Linked DNA regions of Homo sapiens: all the other regions are linked to region 4. Evidence: promoter capture Hi-C in 16 types of primary human blood cells and fetal thymus (Javierre and others, 2016). All regions are on one chromosome and are shown on one strand. Each heading gives the region's core, a stretch centred on a gene start or on the middle of the fragment in contact. The rest is flanking DNA. Distances are from core to core; before and after follow the strand shown. Region 1 overlaps SLC44A3 (solute carrier family 44 member 3). Region 2 overlaps ALG14 (ALG14 UDP-N-acetylglucosaminyltransferase subunit). Region 3 overlaps ALG14 (ALG14 UDP-N-acetylglucosaminyltransferase subunit). Region 4 holds the start of F3 (coagulation factor III, tissue factor). Region 5 holds the start of CNN3 (calponin 3). Region 6 overlaps SLC44A3 (solute carrier family 44 member 3).

Region 1 (2,980 bases), core at 407-2,906, 320 kb before region 4:
ATGGTAGAAGAAGAGAATGGAGAGAGACGAAAGGATGGGATGATCAGGAGGATCATTTTTACTTCTGGAAATAGGGAAAAGGATAGCATTTTAAAAACACTTTTTATAAAGCAGCAAAAGCTCTCTGGTTCCAATCATCTGTGGTACTAACAACTTAGAAAGTTGTGACATAATAAGCATTTGGCGAACTTTTTATACTCCTTGGTAGCTTCGGTTAAATTGTTTCTTGTATTAATTTAATTCGTTTTGGTGCCACTTAATGCTACAAATAAAACAGAAAAAATTTAAAAAAATTGATGAGTTAAAAAAGTTTCCCTCTTCATAATGCAGAGCCCATCCACCAACCCTTTAGGGTGCCTATTCATCTCATTTTCACTTTCAGAATTTTAATTGCGGCACAATCTCCAAGGTTTAACTTACACAGGAGTATACATAAATATTGCCAGCATTCACCTGGTGATTAAAAATCATCACCAAATCACATGACCAGGATCAGTGGCCAGAGAGGTAATAGTGAGCTCCCACTTACAGGAAAGGGACAGAAAGCCCTGGGTGCTTGGCTCCTACACAGCTCTAGGCTCCCCAAATCCTGCTGGTTTCTACTCTGCTCTTTAAAGGTCACTTCAGTGTGAATCATTTACGGGACTTGTCATGACGCAGCTCCCAAGAATGTGTACAAGTCAGTTTCACAGGCAGGGAAAAAAAAGTGAGAAAGAACAGAATGGGCACAGCCATCACTCTCCCCTAACCCTGAAAGATAAAACAAAGGAGTGGGGGCTGATGCCACCCCACGGGTGACCCTTTGAATTCCCGCTGAAGCCAGTTCTAGAAAATAAGGTCTTTCTGAGAAGCAACTTCACAGATTCCAAGTGAAGCTTGGTTTCTTTATAATGGATTATTCTACAACTTGCTCTGGTTGCTAATAAGTCACTATGAATTAAGGTTTTGACAGCAGCCTAGGTTTTGAGAGAGGAAAAGGAAGGCAGCCAGAAATGTTTCAAGAGTTGGCAATGGCTGCATTTTGCTGTTACTCAAATCAGCCAGGAAGAAAAAGAGAACATGAAAGTAATATTGGGAGCTGAAAAACTGCAACCCAGTTGTCCCACAAAAAAAAAGGATGTGTGTTTCAACACAGTGTTATTTAAAGTAGGAAAAACCACGGAAGCTATTGCTAATAGGAATTCATTTAGATCTGATAAACTAGAAGAGTAGTGTAGGCCAGGAAAATCTGACACACTTTTTTTTCCCTTCCCTCATTTTTCTTTTTTTTTAAGGAAGAACGTTTACTTTTCCATTGAGGAGATTTGTGTGCCTTAGAACTTATTATGGTGCTCAAGAGGGGAGGCAGGGAGAAGAGGACAACACCTGCTTTCCATCTGGTAGGGAAACACATGATTCATAGGCCTCTGTGAATGAGGGCCTTGGGGTTAGCCCTCCAGGTATTAGAGTTTGGGGTTAGGCATCAGCTTTCTGAGGTTTCACTGTGATGGGGTTAACCACTTCAGGCAGAGGAGTACCTGCACTGCCTCAGCTTCCCTAGTCTGTAACACATCCTGGTTATGGCTGGAGGCTCTGCCTGGCTTGGCTGGAAGAAGATGCAGAGGTTCCAGAAGCTGGGTTATCACGTGATGGGAGACGGAACTTAAAAAGAGGGCCCTTTCAACCCAAGCCAGCTCTTGGAGCCAGGAGTCACTCAATACCTGCCCTCAAAACTAGAAACAGCCCTACAGAAAAAAAAGGCTAATGAAGTGGTGTGTCTCTGAGGCCCCCACCTAGTCTCAGACTCATTTCCATGTTCAAAGGTAACGTCATCCTACCACCTCTCCCCTGCTGTGTGTGGGGCTAGTGCCTCCAGCTCTGTCTCCCTCACAACCAGCCAAACCTGCCTTCAGGAAGAGGATCTGACACACCCAGTGATGCTAAATATAATACTTACCTCTGGACTTATTCATATTTTAAGAATTGACCTGGGGGACAACATTCCAGTGTTGAGCATATGGGGCAACCCAGCGATGAGTGTATTAGGAGGCTGGGGAGGACTGGGCCCCCAGTCAGCCTTCCTCATCTCTCTCTAGATCTTCCCACTGGACCACATCCACCCCAATTCTGTGGGTAGTGGCAATAAGGAAGACACGGGCAGTGTTAGAGGGTAAGGCGACTCTAGCATATGCCCCATGAAGCCCAGCTTCCCCCTTCCTTTGGATGTGTGGCTGCTTTGAGTGCTAATGGTGCCTGGCTCCCAGAACAACGAAGCCAGTTGCCCAAAATACCACATCAATCCAAGCTGTGGGGCAAAGGGTTTAATGGTCCCATCCATCCAAGTCCTCTAACACCTTTGGGTCATGGTACAAAGTACTGTTTTGTAATTTCTACTCCCATCAGACAACAGAGTGCATACAGCCAGGCAAGCCGCATCATGGTCCTAGAGACAAGCTTTGGCTCTAGTTAGATCCAGCCTCGTGCTCACTAAAAACTCTTCTGACATTATGGAGAATTAATTTTGTGCTGAGGCTCCTGGACTAGGTGTGGGCTGCATGGGACAAATGGCCTCCAACGTAAAGCTGGTCCCAGCAAAGGACTGTGTGGTCCCTGTAGAGACCATGTCTCTTCCAGTATTTCTTACAACAAAATCACTGCAAGATGGGGTTTGGAGGGCTGAGAAGGTTGTATGTTTCTTTCCTATTCTACAGAAAATGAAAATCGTCTTTATTAGAAAGAAGAGGATTCTTTAGCTGGCCTGGGTAACTCTTGCTAGGTTAGGAAATTCATCTATCTCTACCTAAATTCCTTAGGCTCTGCTATGAATCCATTTCCTCTTCTCCATCTGTAGATATAGAGCAGCTGGAAACCCTCTTTTGTATATTTGAAAATGATGATGAAGTCACACCTCAAGTGTCCCTCCACCACCCTGAAGGGTTCTAGCTCCTTCCTATCACATCCCTAACACCACCTTTATGGCTCTCAGTTGATCCTTCTTCAA
Region 2 (2,930 bases), core at 257-2,756, 470 kb before region 4:
TTTCTAAATTTATATTTATATCTTGGTGGGTTTCTAAATATAAAAATCAGCATGTGTCTGCATATTCCCTTTCCTCTTTTTATTAGAGCAGTCATATTATTCAATGGTCATTCTCTGATGGAGAAGGCATTTGTACACTTAGAATTACAAACTTACACAGATGATACCTTACCAACAATTTAATTATATACCCTATTTTTAAAGTTTAGATAATAGAACCAAAAGAAGGGAGTGCCTTGTCCAAAGTCTTAGAACTAATAGGAAAGCATGAATAAAAAAAAAACAGTTCTTGTCACTCCCAGCTCCAGGTTCAGCTCTCTGACCACACAACAAATGAGACATCATAGACTCTTCTCTCGAAGGGTATCAGGTGCTGTCTACATGGATAGAGAAAATGGGCTTGGGCAACATGCATACCAGGGTTTAAAATCTAGGTCTGCCACTCTACCATTTGGACAAATTTAGGTGAGCTGTTTATTCTCCATAAACTTCCTTTTCCTCATCTGTAGAACAGGGACCATGATATCTACTTCATAGTCTTGTGTGAACATTCATGCATAAGAAGCCCCCATGGTAGGTTGCTGGATCTTTCTCCTCTTTTGTCATTAAGTTAAATATTCTCTTCCAGAAATCAAGAGGCTAATAAGGAGTTAATAAATGTTTTAAAACTTAGACCACGGAATGTCTACACAATGCCCAGTTTGGATGCTATGGTATTCTGACTGTTTTCATGTTGATTTTCATGCCACAGTGAGCCTCTTCAGGCATGGAAACAACCAAGGATTATTTGCTTCTGTCTTCTTTGTTTTCCAGCCCTCTTATATTTTCATCACAGACTCCATCGCTTCCAAAAACAGTGTGTCAGGATTTACTAATGAATTTCAGCTCTGTCCTGCTGGACCACCATTCAAGGACATCCGTCCAAACCCGCCCCTCTCAAGAAGGGCTTATCCACATGCACCTGATTTACAAACAACCTTAGTTCCCCAGTTTGGTTCCTCATTTTCTTGAGGCTTCTTCTGAGGCTTTTTGTCTTGCACCTTTACTCCATCCAGATCTTGCCCTCCTGTGAACTCCTCTTGAACTTAGAGCTTAGCATTTAATTGTTCTCTAGTCATTTAACTTCTGCTGAATTTTCTCCCTCCCCAAATTAGATTGTGAGTACTTTAAGAGTCAAAAACCAAGCTTTCTGGCTTTATTATCCCTGTGGAGCTTAGCAGTGTGTCAGGTGCTTGGAGAGGTCTTTGATTAATAACTGAATAGTAAGGAACTGGAACACGCTAGTTCTACCAGATGGAAATTAGCAGCACCCAGTCCCAGCTCCCTGCAGATCTCCATCTCTCTCGGTTAAATATCTCGTCCTCAGCTAACACCCTCTGATCCCTCCTGGATCCCACTGAGAGGTGAATGGCATTCACAAGCCCCTTGAACTGCTTCTTGGCTCACCTTTATTACCCTGACTTGCTCCCAACCCACTATCAGGTGTGTTCTGCCCTCTTTGTTATCAAAGAAGGGGGACTTAGGCCTCCCCTATTCTGAGTGCCGTGGCAAGTTTAAAACTGTATAGCGCTCTCTTCAGATTGCAAAGGGTTAGGAATCATAATGAAGCCTTAGGAACTCGAGTCTTTTTCTGCTGCCATTCCATCAACATGCTCACTTAATTCTTAAACAAAATGCTATTCATTGAATTACTTTTTATTTCTTAAGATAGCCTGAAACTATTAATATGGTGCAAGACTTTCTGATGTCATTGCTCTGGGATCATAAAACCTACTTGTCAAAGCTATTCTTTGAAGTTATTTAGCCATAATTTTGTTATAAGCTTTTTATTTACAAATAAAAATTATTTATAAATCAATTTGTAAATAATTGTAATTATAAGTTTACATGTAATTTTAACTATTTGTAGATAATTCAAAAAATTATTTACAAATTTGTTTTTATTTTGTATTGAGTAACTGCTGTGAGCTGAGACTAGAGCTAGGCACCATGGGAAATGGAGATGGCAATTTGTGCTCAGAAGAGTTTGTAATCTAGAATCCAGCCATGGCCCCAAGTCTGAGGCTAAGAAGGAAGGATGATCTGGACTGGGAACAGAATTGACCTGCCTCAGGGTTCCAGACTGAAGCATCAGTGTGATTTTTTAGAGGTGTTTTAAATCACAGGCCCTATTTTGGGGGTGAGAACAGGTTAATTAGCCACTATTCCATTATTCCAGGCTGCACAAACTACATAGTAAAGATTATGGCCTAAGGCTTCAGGATGTCCAACAGAATAGTTCTGAAAGTCAGGGGAAGCAAACGCTCTTCAAAGCGCCCAGAACAAATAGCCCTTTAGGTCAGTTCTTAAATCAATAACAGATCAGTCACCAGAGGAGGAAGTCTGTTTCACAGCCAAACAGTGAACAATGCTGTACTGAAACCCTAAGCTCCCATGGTCTCTGGGGAGTAATTAGAACTTGTTCAGTAATCAGCTAATTTGTATTTCTGGGAATGATTCTAAATAAAAAATGATAAAAGTTGGATAAAGGGTAAACTATAGACCATTGCTTCATAATGGAATTGCATAATTCAAGTGGGGAATCATAAATTTGGAAATGCTGGAAGGGTTTTTTTTTTTTTTTAAGAAAAAAGTGATTTAAAGGCAATGCTAATAAAATAAAAATAACCCATGACTAAAAATATATGCTGAAGCATTTTATCTCACTGGAACCTGAGAACAGTAAAATATCCAAGCTGGAGTCTAGTCTACTAGACTAGTCTAGTTTTCTCACTAGGCCTATAAATTAATTTTGAGACTCTGAAGTAATTGTTTGACCTCTTTTGTCTGCAGAGTCAGTACAGATTTGGGGTGTTGTTTGTTTTAGTTGTTGGCAAAACATTGTAGATATCCAGATCCTGGTTGCTGTATTTTTATTAAAAAGAACAGGA
Region 3 (2,903 bases), core at 253-2,752, 500 kb before region 4:
CTGGGACTACAGGCACGTGCTACCATACCCAGCTAATTTTTGTATTTTTAGTAGAGACAAGGTTTTACTATGTTGGCCAGGATGGTCTCAAAACTCCTGACCTCAGGTGATCCAAACACCTCGGCCTCCCAAAGTGCTGGGATTACAGGCATTACAGGCGTAAGCCACCGCGCGTGGCCAATTTTTTGTATTTTTAGTAGAGACAGGGTTTCACCATGTTGGCCAAGCAGGTTTCAAACTCTTGACCTTCAGGCAATCCACGTATCTTGGCCTCCCAAAGTGCTGGGATTACAGGTGTGAACCACCGCACCTGGTCCAGTTTATTACTTCTTACTTGGTGCTAACATTATATTTAATAATTGTCTCATATTATAGTTATCCCTTTGACTGCAATTATCACTTTTCCTGTGCTGTCCTGATAGACTGCAGTGAGTTCCTTGTGAATGTCTTATTCACCTCTGTTTCCCTAGCCCAGTTCCTGTCACCTGGCAGGTGCTTGTTGAAAGTTTAATGAAGAAACAAGTGAATGAATCCATGCTTAGAGAGTACAGCTCTGAAATTCAATGTCGTAAACAATTGTTTCATACATGATTTTAATATATATATTTTATTTTAAGAAAAGGAATGCAATTTTCTTACCATTTTAAGGACAAAGGAAGGGTGCTTCAACTTCAAGTGACATAAACCTACGCTTAAAATTGGCTTGAACAATAAAGGGAATTTGTCAACTTACAAAACAGGAAAAATTCAGTCTTATTTCTGGCGAGGCTTGGTCCGGTTGCCCAGGCATATCCCTATAGCAAGAGTTGTCTCTCTGCTCTGTCTTCTGCAGTGGCAGCTCCACCGGGCTTCCCACAGTGCTGCCTCCAGCAGCTCCAAGCTCTCTCATTAGGGTAACAAAAACCTGTAGCACCTCCTGGCCTCATGTCTCTTCCTCTTCATGAGGAAGAAGAGGATCTCTTACAGCATATGGGAGAGAGAGCCCCAGCAAACATCTCCTGCCTCATGGTACTCCAGTGGGGTTATACTCCCATCTTTCAGCTAATCATTGTAGCCAGGAATGATTCCTCCATGTTGCTTCAGCCATTCCAGGCCTACTCTTAGAGGCAGGGTTAGGGGTGAAGGGGACAGGAGGCAAATACCACCAAACCGTCCGGCTGAGAATATGAGAGGAATGAGTTACCCAAAGGAAAATTGCGATATTGTCAAAAGAAGGAGTCAATAAAGGCTGAGAGAGAATAAATGTGCATTTATAAAAGGCTTTAAAAATCTTTTGAGCCAGAATCCCATAATTTTTTCAGAAACAAACTACTTTGTTTTTCCCTGAAGTCTCAGACCACCAGGCAAGGAGAAGCTTCTGGAGGTAAAGTGAGGGGTGGTTTCAGGCCCTGGGGCAGAGCTGGAGTGCAGCCTCATTTCTCTTTGACAAGCCAGTCTTGAGCCAGCTGTGGGATCATGGTGGCTAGTTAAGGATCCCTGATCTCAGCTAGCCCTCCTTGCTTCACAGTGGGACACTGAGGTCCAGAGAGCTTGATTCATGCAAAGTAAGTGGTTATCAGCAGGACCCATCATGGGACTGTATTAGTCTGTTCTCATGCTGCTATAAAGAACTGCCCGAGACTGGGTAATTTATAAAGAAAAGAAGCTTGGGCCAGGCGCGGTGGCTCACGCCCTTAATCCCAGCACTTTGGGAGGTCGAGGTGGGCGGATCACCTGAAATCAGGAGTTTGAGACCATCCTGGCCAACATGGTGAAACCCCGTCTCTACTAAAACTACAAAAATTAGCCGGGTATGGTGGCGCATACCTGTAATCCCAACTACTTGAGAGGCTGAGGCTGGAGAATTGCTTGAATTTGGGTTGTGGAGGTTGCAGTGAGCCGAGATCGCACCACTGCACCCCAACCTGGGCAACAGAGTGAGACTCCATCTCAAAAAAAAAAAAAAAAAAAAAAAAAGAGGTTTAATTGACTCACAGTTCCACATGGCTGGGGAGGCCTCAGGAAACTTGGAATCATGGTGGAAGGCACCTCTTCACAGGGTGACAGGAGGGAGAATAAGTGCCCAGCAAAGGGGGAAGCCCCTTATAAAACCATCAGAACTCATGAGAACTAACGCACTATCACAGGGGAACTGCCCCCATGATTCAATTATCTCCACTTGGTCCTTCCCATGGGGGTTATGGGAACTACAATTCAAGATGAGACTTGGGTGGGGACACAACCAAACTATATCAGGGGCCCACAGCACCCTCACTTATATGACACTTCATGGCATTTCATCAGCACCATAAAGTATCTACCAAGTACTTGAAGGACATATAAAAAAAAATTTTGTGGTAAATTATGGTCATCTTGATTTCATAATGATTAGTTGAACCATCCAACATACATTTAAAAATATACATTGCATTATTTTTAAATAGTTATGAAAGAAAGCTGAAACCATTTTTGGTTGAATGAAATTTTACCATTTTAACTTTGTCTTGTTTCCAGGACTTTTCAGTCGTGTGGCATTCACTAAATAATAAAGGTATTGTATGTTTCAGTGTGTGGTAACAGCAAAGAATGACTTCATCAACCACTTGATCTCCTCTGTTGTGGTTTATGATGCCATCTGGATTCTTTGGTGGAATTATTTCCATCTAAATCACTATAAACTCCTATTTAGTTTTCACAAATCTAAAGCCAGATATGTTTGTGGTTTTTAACAGTGATGTAATTCTGGAACATACTTTGAAAGTTACAAGTTGTCATATACTGTTAGTATTTAACTCAGTGTTTCATATACTATCAGACACTAGAAGCCTGAACAAAATCCATTTCTCTGTTTTTTCACTCTTCAGCATCCTACTTTTCTTGTCTCTCTTGCCACCATATATTTGATTATACATCAGTCAAGTTCA
Region 4 (2,760 bases), core at 234-2,733:
CTGAAGATCTCTTAGGGAAAATGACTCAGGCTAGAGCCTGCATAAAAAGAGGATTGCATGGCTTAGTTTTGCAAACATAAATTTTGTGGGTTTCAGAGCTGGCAGAGAGCTCAAAGAGGAAATCATCAAGGGCAACTTTCTGCTTCGAGGAAGGAAAGTCTACAAGGGCTAAACCTGGATGTGCTATTTCAGTTCAGGCAAAGGAGGAAAATTAAAATTTTGCACAGTTTTATTCTGTTAAAACAAGTGGTTCAGTAAGCTAAACGAGATATGTATATAGTATGCATTAAAATGCAAGACTGACTTCCCTGGGAAAACGTGGGAAAGAAGGAGAGAGGAAACAAACAATTCTTACACTAAGAATTCTCCAGTCGTGTCTTGCAGGCAATATAGAGTAATAATAATAAAAATGACAGGAGATACTTTGACAGGATGGCTTAAAATGCCACTCAATAGATGAAGAGTTGTTCTCATGCTTGGCAAGTTTACAGCAAAGCCCAGAAGGAGAAGCCAGAAAATAATTTAGAAAAACCAAAGCTTAAAACTAGTGGCACACAACTCTGGTTACATTTTTCATTTTCATTTTTGGTTCCTCTGCATTTCGGTGGAACTCAGTCCCACAGATGTCTTCTTCAATGTGGGAACCATCCTTTCTGGAACCACAGAGCTGCAGATGTCACGCTGGAATTCTCCCAGAGGCAAACTGCCAGATGTGAGGCTGCTCTTCCTCAGTCACTATCTCTGGTCGTACCGGGCGATGCCTGAGCCAACTGACCCTCAGACCTGTGAGCCGAGCCGGTCACACCGTGGCTGACACCGGCATTCCCACCGCCTTTCTCCTGTGCGACCCGCTAAGGGCCCCGCGAGGTGGGCAGGCCAGGTATTCTTGACCTTCGTGGGGTAGAAGAAGCCACCGTGGCTGGGAGAGGGCCCTGCTCACAGCCACACGTTTACTTCGCTGCAGGTCCCGAGCTTCTGCCCCAGGTGGGCAAAGCATCCGGGAAATGCCCTCCGCTGCCCGAGGGGAGCCCAGAGCCCGTGCTTTCTATTAAATGTTGTAAATGCCGCCTCTCCCACTTTATCACCAAATGGAAGGGAAGAATTCTTCCAAGGCGCCCTCCCTTTCCTGCCATAGACCTGCAACCCACCTAAGCTGCACGTCGGAGTCGCGGGCCTGGGTGAATCCGGGGGCCTTGGGGGACCCGGGCAACTAGACCCGCCTGCGTCCTCCAGGGCAGCTCCGCGCTCGGTGGCGCGGTTGAATCACTGGGGTGAGTCATCCCTTGCAGGGTCCCGGAGTTTCCTACCGGGAGGAGGCGGGGCAGGGGTGTGGACTCGCCGGGGGCCGCCCACCGCGACGGCAAGTGACCCGGGCCGGGGGCGGGGAGTCGGGAGGAGCGGCGGGGGCGGGCGCCGGGGGCGGGCAGAGGCGCGGGAGAGCGCGCCGCCGGCCCTTTATAGCGCGCGGGGCACCGGCTCCCCAAGACTGCGAGCTCCCCGCACCCCCTCGCACTCCCTCTGGCCGGCCCAGGGCGCCTTCAGCCCAACCTCCCCAGCCCCACGGGCGCCACGGAACCCGCTCGATCTCGCCGCCAACTGGTAGACATGGAGACCCCTGCCTGGCCCCGGGTCCCGCGCCCCGAGACCGCCGTCGCTCGGACGCTCCTGCTCGGCTGGGTCTTCGCCCAGGTGGCCGGCGCTTCAGGTGAGTGGCACCAGCCCCTGGAAGCCCGGGGCGCGCCACACGCAGGAGGGAGGCGACAGTCCTGGCTGGCAGCGGGCTCGCCCTGGTTCCCCGGGGCGCCCATGTTGTCCCCCGCGCCTACGGGACTCGGCTGCGCTCACCCAGCCCGGCTTGAATGAACCGAGTCCGTCGGGCGCCGGCGGGAGTTGCAGGGAGGGAGTTGGCGCCCCAGACCCCGCTGCCCCTTCCGCTGGAGAGTTTTGCTCGGGGTGTCCGAGTAATTGGACTGTTGTTGCATAAGCGGACTTTTAGCTCCCGCTTTAACTCTGGGGAAAGGGCTTCCCAGTGAGTTGCGACCTTCAATATGATAGGACTTGTGCCTGCGTCTGCACGTGTTGGCGTGCAGAGGTTTGGATATTATCTTTCATTATATGTGCATCTTCCCTTAATAAAGAGCGTCCCTGGTCTTTTCCTGGCCATCTTTGTTCTAGGTTTGGGTAGAGGCAATCCAAAAGGGCTGGATTGCTGCTTAGATTGGAGCAGGTACAACGTTGTGCATGCCCCGTATTTCTACGAGGTGTTCGGGACGGCGTAGAGACTGGGACCTGCTGCGTACTGGCAAAGCAGACCTTCATAAGAAATAATCCTGATCCAATACAGCCGACGGTGTGACAGGCCACACGTCCCCGTGGGTCTCTGTGGAAGTTTCAGTGTAGCGACATTTCAGATAAAAGTGGAAAAAGTGAAGTTTGGCTTTTTTCATTTGTATGCAGTCCTAACTCTTGTCACACGTGTGGGATTTATCTTTTTCCATAACTTACTGAAAACCCTTCCTGGCGGGCTGAACCTGACTCTTCCTGAGCTGAGTCCTGGACTGGCACACTGATGGCTCTGGGCTCTTCCCGGTCAAGTTATAACAAGGCTTTGCCCATGAATAATTTCAAACGAAAATGTCAAGATCCTTGCCGGTGTCCTGGGATTACAAGGTGAATCTTGTCATGAAGAAATTCTAGGTCTAGAAAAAATTTGAAGATTCTTTTTCTCTTGATAATTCACTAATGAAGCTTTTGTGGTTG
Region 5 (2,807 bases), core at 25-2,524, 390 kb before region 4:
AACTATGATGTTTTGGCTCCTCTTCTCAAGCAGCTTTCCACACCTGGTTCCATGATCTCTTCTGGCACAGTAGCTGGTATTTGGCAAACATAGGTTTCATCCTGGGATCTCAGGGATTGAAATCTGTCCTAGGTGTGCACCAGAAAGTGGTGGCAAGAGATGAAGCTTCGGAGGAGGCTGACCTCGGCCAGGATTCTTAAGTCTCAAAGTTTCAGCTTTCTCACCCCTCAACGGACATGAAATCTACCTATTTGTAACTCCAGGGAAGTAAATGAGATAATGTTTGGAAGATATCTAGTCTACCAGCTGCTCAGGCGGGGGGCGAAGGTTCTGTTCCCTGTCCCTTCTCTATCAAATGGCTTTAAAATCAGAAGAAAGTATTACGGGTAGGAAATGGGACTGCGAAAAAAATGGAGGCTGATTCTGGCCTAAAGGATACTTATCTCTATACAAAGGGCTTCTGATTCAAAGAGGCCCCGGGATTCAAAAACACAAGCAGAGCTACACCACGTGGGGTTTGGGACGAGCTGAATTCCGGATAAAGATGCCTGTAAAGAGGAGTTGATGCGAATCCAGAAAAGCACTTGAAATGCCCAGGCTTTGCATGGCACATTCCCCAGGATTTTTTCGCACCGCATTTAGAGGTTTAGACGGAGTGAGCTCGAATCAGGCCAAAAGCCTTAGGTTACTCCTGGGCGGCAGCGGGGCAGAGGTCAGATCAACAGGTGTGGAAGGCTGCGAGGTGAGGGAAGAAGCAGGTGTCGGTGGAGGCCCCAGTTCCTCCGGCCCAGAGGCTCCAACGCTGCTATTGGTGTTCCAGCAGCGGGCGGAGGGGTCCTGCCCGGCATCTGGGCGCGCTGGGCCCAGAGCCCGGGAGGAGGCAGACGGAGGCGGCGGGTCAGCGGCGGGCCAGCCCCGGTGGGCTTCCGCTCCCCTCCGCCGGCCCGGTCCGGCCCGCCGCGGAGGATGCCTGGAGGTTGACGTGAATGGCCTGTGGCTGGGAAGCCCCCAGGCGCCCTGCCTAGCCCGGGGGCGGGGCCGCCTAGCCGCCGGCCCCGGTGGCGTGAGGGCTGGGGCGGGGGCCGGGGACCTCGCGGGGAGGGAGCGGGAGGGAAAGCGGCCCCCGCGGCCCTTCAATTGGCCGCACCGCCCCTCGGCGCAGAGGCGGGAGGAGGCGGCCCTCCATTGGTCGGGCCCGGCGGCCAATCCTCGAAGGCCCAGGCGGAGGCGGGGGCGGCCTGTGGGGAACCGAGGTGCGGGCGGCGAGCGAGGCAGCCGGGTGCTTCGCAGCGGAGCTCGAGGCTCTGTAGCACCCAGTTGGACCCAGTCGCCCAGGCACCGCCCGCGCCCCGCGGCCGTCTCCTGCGCCTCCCAGAGGAGGGAGTTCGAGCATCCCCCGCGGCGGCCACTCCTCGGGGCCAGGAGCGGGGAAGCGAAGTGCGAGAGACCCCGGACCCCAGCGCTGTCTCTTCCCGCCGCCCGAACCACCATGACCCACTTCAACAAGGGCCCTTCCTATGGGCTCTCGGCCGAAGTCAAGAACAAGGTACGCCTGGCTCGGGCGGGCGCGGGGGCCCCCGGGGCACCCTTGGGCTGGCCTGGCGCTGGGCCGTGCTTCGTTTGCTCTTCGCGCTGTGGCTCACCGTTTTCCTGGAGAGGGGCCGTCGAGGCGGCGCGAGCGTCTCTGCCTGTCCCGGTCGCGTCCAGTCCCCGGGCTTGCGGGGCCGGCTCCCGGGCACCCGCCTGGCTTTGTTCCCGCGCCGTGGGACAGGACTAGTGGCTGGCGGTGGGTTCCCGGGCGCCTGGAGTCCCGCGGCGCCAGCCTTTCCGGCTGCGGGGGTCTCGGGGGCCGTTTGGTGACTGCAGAACGCGCCCTCCGGGAAGGGGGCGCTCCTGCGTGGCCACTCGCCCTTAGGCGGAGCCCGTCTGCGCGGCCAGGGACCCGGCGAGCCGCTGCCGCAGCCCCCGCCATCTGCCCGGGCCCCGGGTGCTGGCGGACTCCGCGCCTCCCCACGGGGAGAGAGACCGCCTAATGTCCCGCCGACCCCAGGGGCCCCGAGGAACGGAAGCCGGTCCGGGACCCATCACAGTCTCCGATCTCGGTGCCTGGGAGGCATTTGGAGGCAGATTGCTGCTGCTGCTTCTGCTGTTGCTTTTGCGGGAAATGGAGACAAAGCCTGAGCGCGCCACTGTGCGAGTGATATCTGCTTAGGCTTGAGACTTTTTATGAAACACTGAGAAGTTTGAAGTACATTAGACTTTCACGACATAAAGGATTATTTTTGTGGGTTGCTTTTGTTTGGGGCTTGTTTGCTGAGGCGGCTTATAGTTTGGAGCGATTGGGATTTGGTGACGCTCAGCTTTGCCACTGAGCCCAAGAATGCGTTAGGTTTATCTTTAGGACTTTTGGCCTGGGAAAGAGATGAGAGGCGTCCCCCTCCCCAAATCCTCTCCTTCCTTCCTCCCTCCCTGCATTCCAAGCCCATGACATCAGGGGTTTCTGGGGGGAGAGACCAGCCAATCGGCGCGGAACTGTGCACAGAACGCTCATTGTCTCCTTTCTGCTGTTCTGGCCAAAGCGCCACAAAGGAGGGCTGCCTGTGGTTTAATTCCCATTAACCTCCCGGGAGCCCAAGCATGTCAGGATTGCCACCGCACCGTCCGACCGCTGGTGGAAGGCACTGGCATTGTCAGAGCTGGAACATCCCGGGGCTGCGGGGGTAGGCGGTGTGAAGCGAATTATGTAAAGAGGTAATGAAGCGCACCGTTGTCAAACCCCAAGGGAGAGTTGTGGCTCTTGTCTCCCG
Region 6 (2,700 bases), core at 54-2,553, 300 kb before region 4:
TGGGCTTTTCTGAGGATGAGTGAACTAGCTCATCTAGCAACCGGGAATTGGTAAGAACTCACAACAAATGAACGGGAGGTGAGCTGGGACTCAATTCTGCCTTATAGAGTAGCCCCTGTGCAGAACTCATGGACCCAGGTGAAAACAGCCTCCCTGCTCACATGGCCTCCCCTCTCCCTAACCTTGCCCCGGCCCTGAAATCTGGGTGGCATAAATGGTGCAGTGTACAAACAAAAAGGGAGCCCTGTGGAGGGTAGACGGAGGAACTGGACCCTCCCCAGCCCCCAGCCCTGCTCCTCTTCCCCTATGCCCAGCCTGGGGAATGGGGAAGCCCTTTCATCTCCAGCCTCCTCTGCAGACTCTGTTGAGTGTCTGGTCTGGTCCCTGCCTGAGGCGAGAGCAACCAGGTGCTTTACTTTATTGTACCCTTACTCCCTGGCACATTTTATGTGAAGATCACAAACCCAAAACCTCACCGTGGAAAGGAGAAAATGTGAAAACTACCAAATATGAGAATAGAAGGATTTCCTATGAGAGAATTTTGTTGGTGTGAGAATCTGCATTTGCTGCAAGATTCAATGGGCTTGTGGAAACCCCTGGCTGCAGCTGCTCCACAGAACAGTCAGTAAGCAACACACCAGCAACGACGACTCTGGGGGACCTGAAGCCAGTGTGGGGTCCGCCCCAGGGCCTTGTGATTTGAGCCTTCCTAACGGCCCCTGGAGAGGGTCCTGAATGACATTTGGTTGCCAACCACCCACCACCAGTAACTAATACCTGCTCCCTCAATATTCTAAGTCAGCCTGTTTTCAGCTAGAGAGTTCACTGAGGAGGCAGCAAGTTCTCTGAACACCAAAATAACCCAGTGGCCAGCGGGTTTGGAAACAAAGGGCTCTGTGTGCTAGAGGGCAGCGGAAGCTGAGCATACACTGGCAAAGGGGAGCCGCACCTCACAAACAGGGAATGGGAACTGCCGTAAGCCTGCCTCCGCCCACCCACCATGCCCACCTTGTAGCCCCTTGGGGCTGAGAACAGTGCAACAGCAAGGATAACACAGTAGTCTCTGGGAGGTGGCAGAAATGACTTGGGAAGAACTAAAACCTTTTTTTCTTATTTTTGAAGAGTTTTGAATTATCCCTATACAGGTATCTCAAATCCAAAGAAGGCACATTCTAAATCAAAAGAAAAACAAATTATAGTTGTTTTTGGCTAGAATTCAATGATTTGGATTTCAGAGTCCTGGCTGGCTACCTGACCTACTGCTAGAAGAGCATTTCTTACCGTGATGCCTGTGGATACGATAGCAAACCCCAGCACGCACTTCATATTTTCCCTTTCTGTGTCCAATTCTATGCTGAGGTCGTTGGTATAGTCATAATACAGCCACCATAAAACACCGCAGACAACTAGAAAAGAGAACAGTAGCAGAGCTCAGGGCACACGCCATGAGGTAACCTTTCCCCAGCACACAGAATCACACAGGAAGTCCAGCCACTGCCCACCGGCCGCGTGGCACTGCTCTGGCAGTGGGTCCCAAATACCCGGACCCTACAAGCAACTGCTGCCCTCTGGAGAAGCTGGGCAGAGCCAGGGCAACCCATAGAGGACCCACAAGTTCTGGGATGATGCTTGTTTTGGGAGACCCAGGATGGTGACCCCAGAACACAGGCACCTAACCCACAGGTTGGGTCTGGATGCGAGCAGGAGGAAAACCCCATGGACAGGATGGTGAGAGGGACAATGCCAGAGCTCACTGTCTAAATGTTTTAAGCAAGCTCTGGTGGTGATAACTCCTGTGGAGCCTGGATATTGGCTGCTCACCCACAAAACCAGGAAAATTTACACGGCCTGTGGGAATCATGGAAGTCAGAAGCTCATTTGGAAGATGCCCTGACATTGCAAGTACTCCACATTTAGGTACGAAATACCACCTTATGCCATATCCACAGTAACTATAGGAAGGTTGGAGTGGACAGGAAGAAACAACCCTCAGAAGTCATTGTGCCTGTCCTCCGACACAGGGCTACAGGGCTCTAAGTTGCTGAGGGCAGAGCTGATGACTCAGGGGAAAGAAACATGACAATCACATCAGTTTTTAAAAATTAAAATATAGTCATCCACTGCATGATGACATTTTGATCAACAATGGACTGCATATATGATGGTGGTTCATGAGATTAATAATACTGTACTTTTCTGTGCTTAGATGTGTTTAGATACACAAATACTGACCATTCTGTTACAGCTGCCAACCGTATTCTGTACAGTAGCATGCTGTGCAGGTTCGTAGCCTAGGAGTAATAGGTTATACCATGTGCCTGGGTGTGTAGTAGGCTCTACCATCTAGGTTTGTGTAAGTGCACCCTGTGATGTTCACACAATGAGGAAATTGCTGAGTGATGCATTTCTCAGAACACATCCCTTCCTGTCATTAAGTGACACCTGATTGTACCCCACACCAGTTGGTAAATGGCTGCTGCCTTGAGCCTCCTGCGTGCCCTTGTCCCTCGGACCTCTTTCCCAACAACTGCTGGTGAGATCCACAATCCAGCAACCGGGAGGGAAATATGGGCACAGTACAGGGTCTCCAGGACTCTGCTTCCATGCAGGCCTGTGTGTCTTCTGGCTGGTCAGAACCTTTACATGACAACTGTGGGCACCCACGTGCCAATGGGTGAGGTGCGCATTCAGAAGAAATCC

Evidence for each region. Contacts are between HindIII fragments. The CHiCAGO score rates a contact against its expected background, and 5 or more counts as called.
Region 1: a contact is called between a fragment that was not itself captured here and the fragment with the promoter of F3 in region 4, in 1 of 17 cell types (endothelial precursors). The highest score is 6.8, in endothelial precursors.
Region 2: a contact is called between a fragment that was not itself captured here and the fragment with the promoter of F3 in region 4, in 1 of 17 cell types (endothelial precursors). The highest score is 5.4, in endothelial precursors.
Region 3: a fragment that was not itself captured here is called in contact with the fragment with the promoter of F3 in region 4 in 1 of 17 cell types (endothelial precursors); the score reaches 5.5 in endothelial precursors.
Region 5: the fragment with the promoter of CNN3 here is called in contact with the fragment with the promoter of F3 in region 4 in 2 of 17 cell types (endothelial precursors and erythroblasts); the score reaches 8.0 in endothelial precursors.
Region 6: a contact is called between a fragment that was not itself captured here and the fragment with the promoter of F3 in region 4, in 1 of 17 cell types (monocytes). The highest score is 5.6, in monocytes.

What each region holds. Positions count from the first base shown.
Region 1 is chr1:94,861,827-94,864,806 of GRCh38, reverse strand. It overlaps SLC44A3 (solute carrier family 44 member 3), which reads right to left. Exons shown (of 15, transcript NM_001114106.3): 11 at 1-64. Among named protein-coding and RNA genes, the nearest start is that of SLC44A3, 43 kb to the right of the region's middle. The HindIII fragment of the contact is 1,558 bases long and covers 878-2,435 here.
Region 2 is chr1:95,013,623-95,016,552 of GRCh38, reverse strand. The region is part of intron 3 of ALG14 (ALG14 UDP-N-acetylglucosaminyltransferase subunit); the gene reads left to right. Among named protein-coding and RNA genes, the nearest start is that of ALG14-AS1, 47 kb to the left of the region's middle. The HindIII fragment of the contact is 637 bases long and covers 1,188-1,824 here.
Region 3 is chr1:95,035,473-95,038,375 of GRCh38, reverse strand. The region is part of intron 2 of ALG14 (ALG14 UDP-N-acetylglucosaminyltransferase subunit); the gene reads left to right. Among named protein-coding and RNA genes, the nearest start is that of ALG14-AS1, 25 kb to the left of the region's middle. The HindIII fragment of the contact is 291 bases long and covers 1,357-1,647 here.
Region 4 is chr1:94,540,482-94,543,241 of GRCh38, reverse strand. It overlaps F3 (coagulation factor III, tissue factor), which reads left to right and starts at 1,483. Exons shown (of 6, transcript NM_001993.5): 1 at 1,483-1,705. The coding sequence starts at 1,606. LOC124904223 (a long non-coding RNA gene) reads right to left here and starts at 1,268. Exons shown (of 2, transcript XR_007066234.1): 1 at 1-1,268. RefSeq lists a silencer at 1,284-1,563. The HindIII fragment of the contact is 2,211 bases long and covers 540-2,750 here.
Region 5 is chr1:94,925,577-94,928,383 of GRCh38, reverse strand. It overlaps CNN3 (calponin 3), which reads left to right and starts at 1,274. Exons shown (of 7, transcript NM_001839.5): 1 at 1,274-1,546. The coding sequence starts at 1,490. It overlaps CNN3-DT (CNN3 divergent transcript), which reads right to left and starts at 2,024. Exons shown (of 3, transcript NR_168377.1): 1 at 1,644-2,024. RefSeq lists silencers at 757-1,636, 1,737-2,166. The HindIII fragment of the contact is 4,662 bases long and covers 168-2,807 here.
Region 6 is chr1:94,840,706-94,843,405 of GRCh38, reverse strand. It overlaps SLC44A3 (solute carrier family 44 member 3), which reads right to left. Exons shown (of 15, transcript NM_001114106.3): 8 at 1,282-1,406. Among named protein-coding and RNA genes, the nearest start is that of SLC44A3, 22 kb to the right of the region's middle. The HindIII fragment of the contact is 8,969 bases long and covers 1-2,700 here.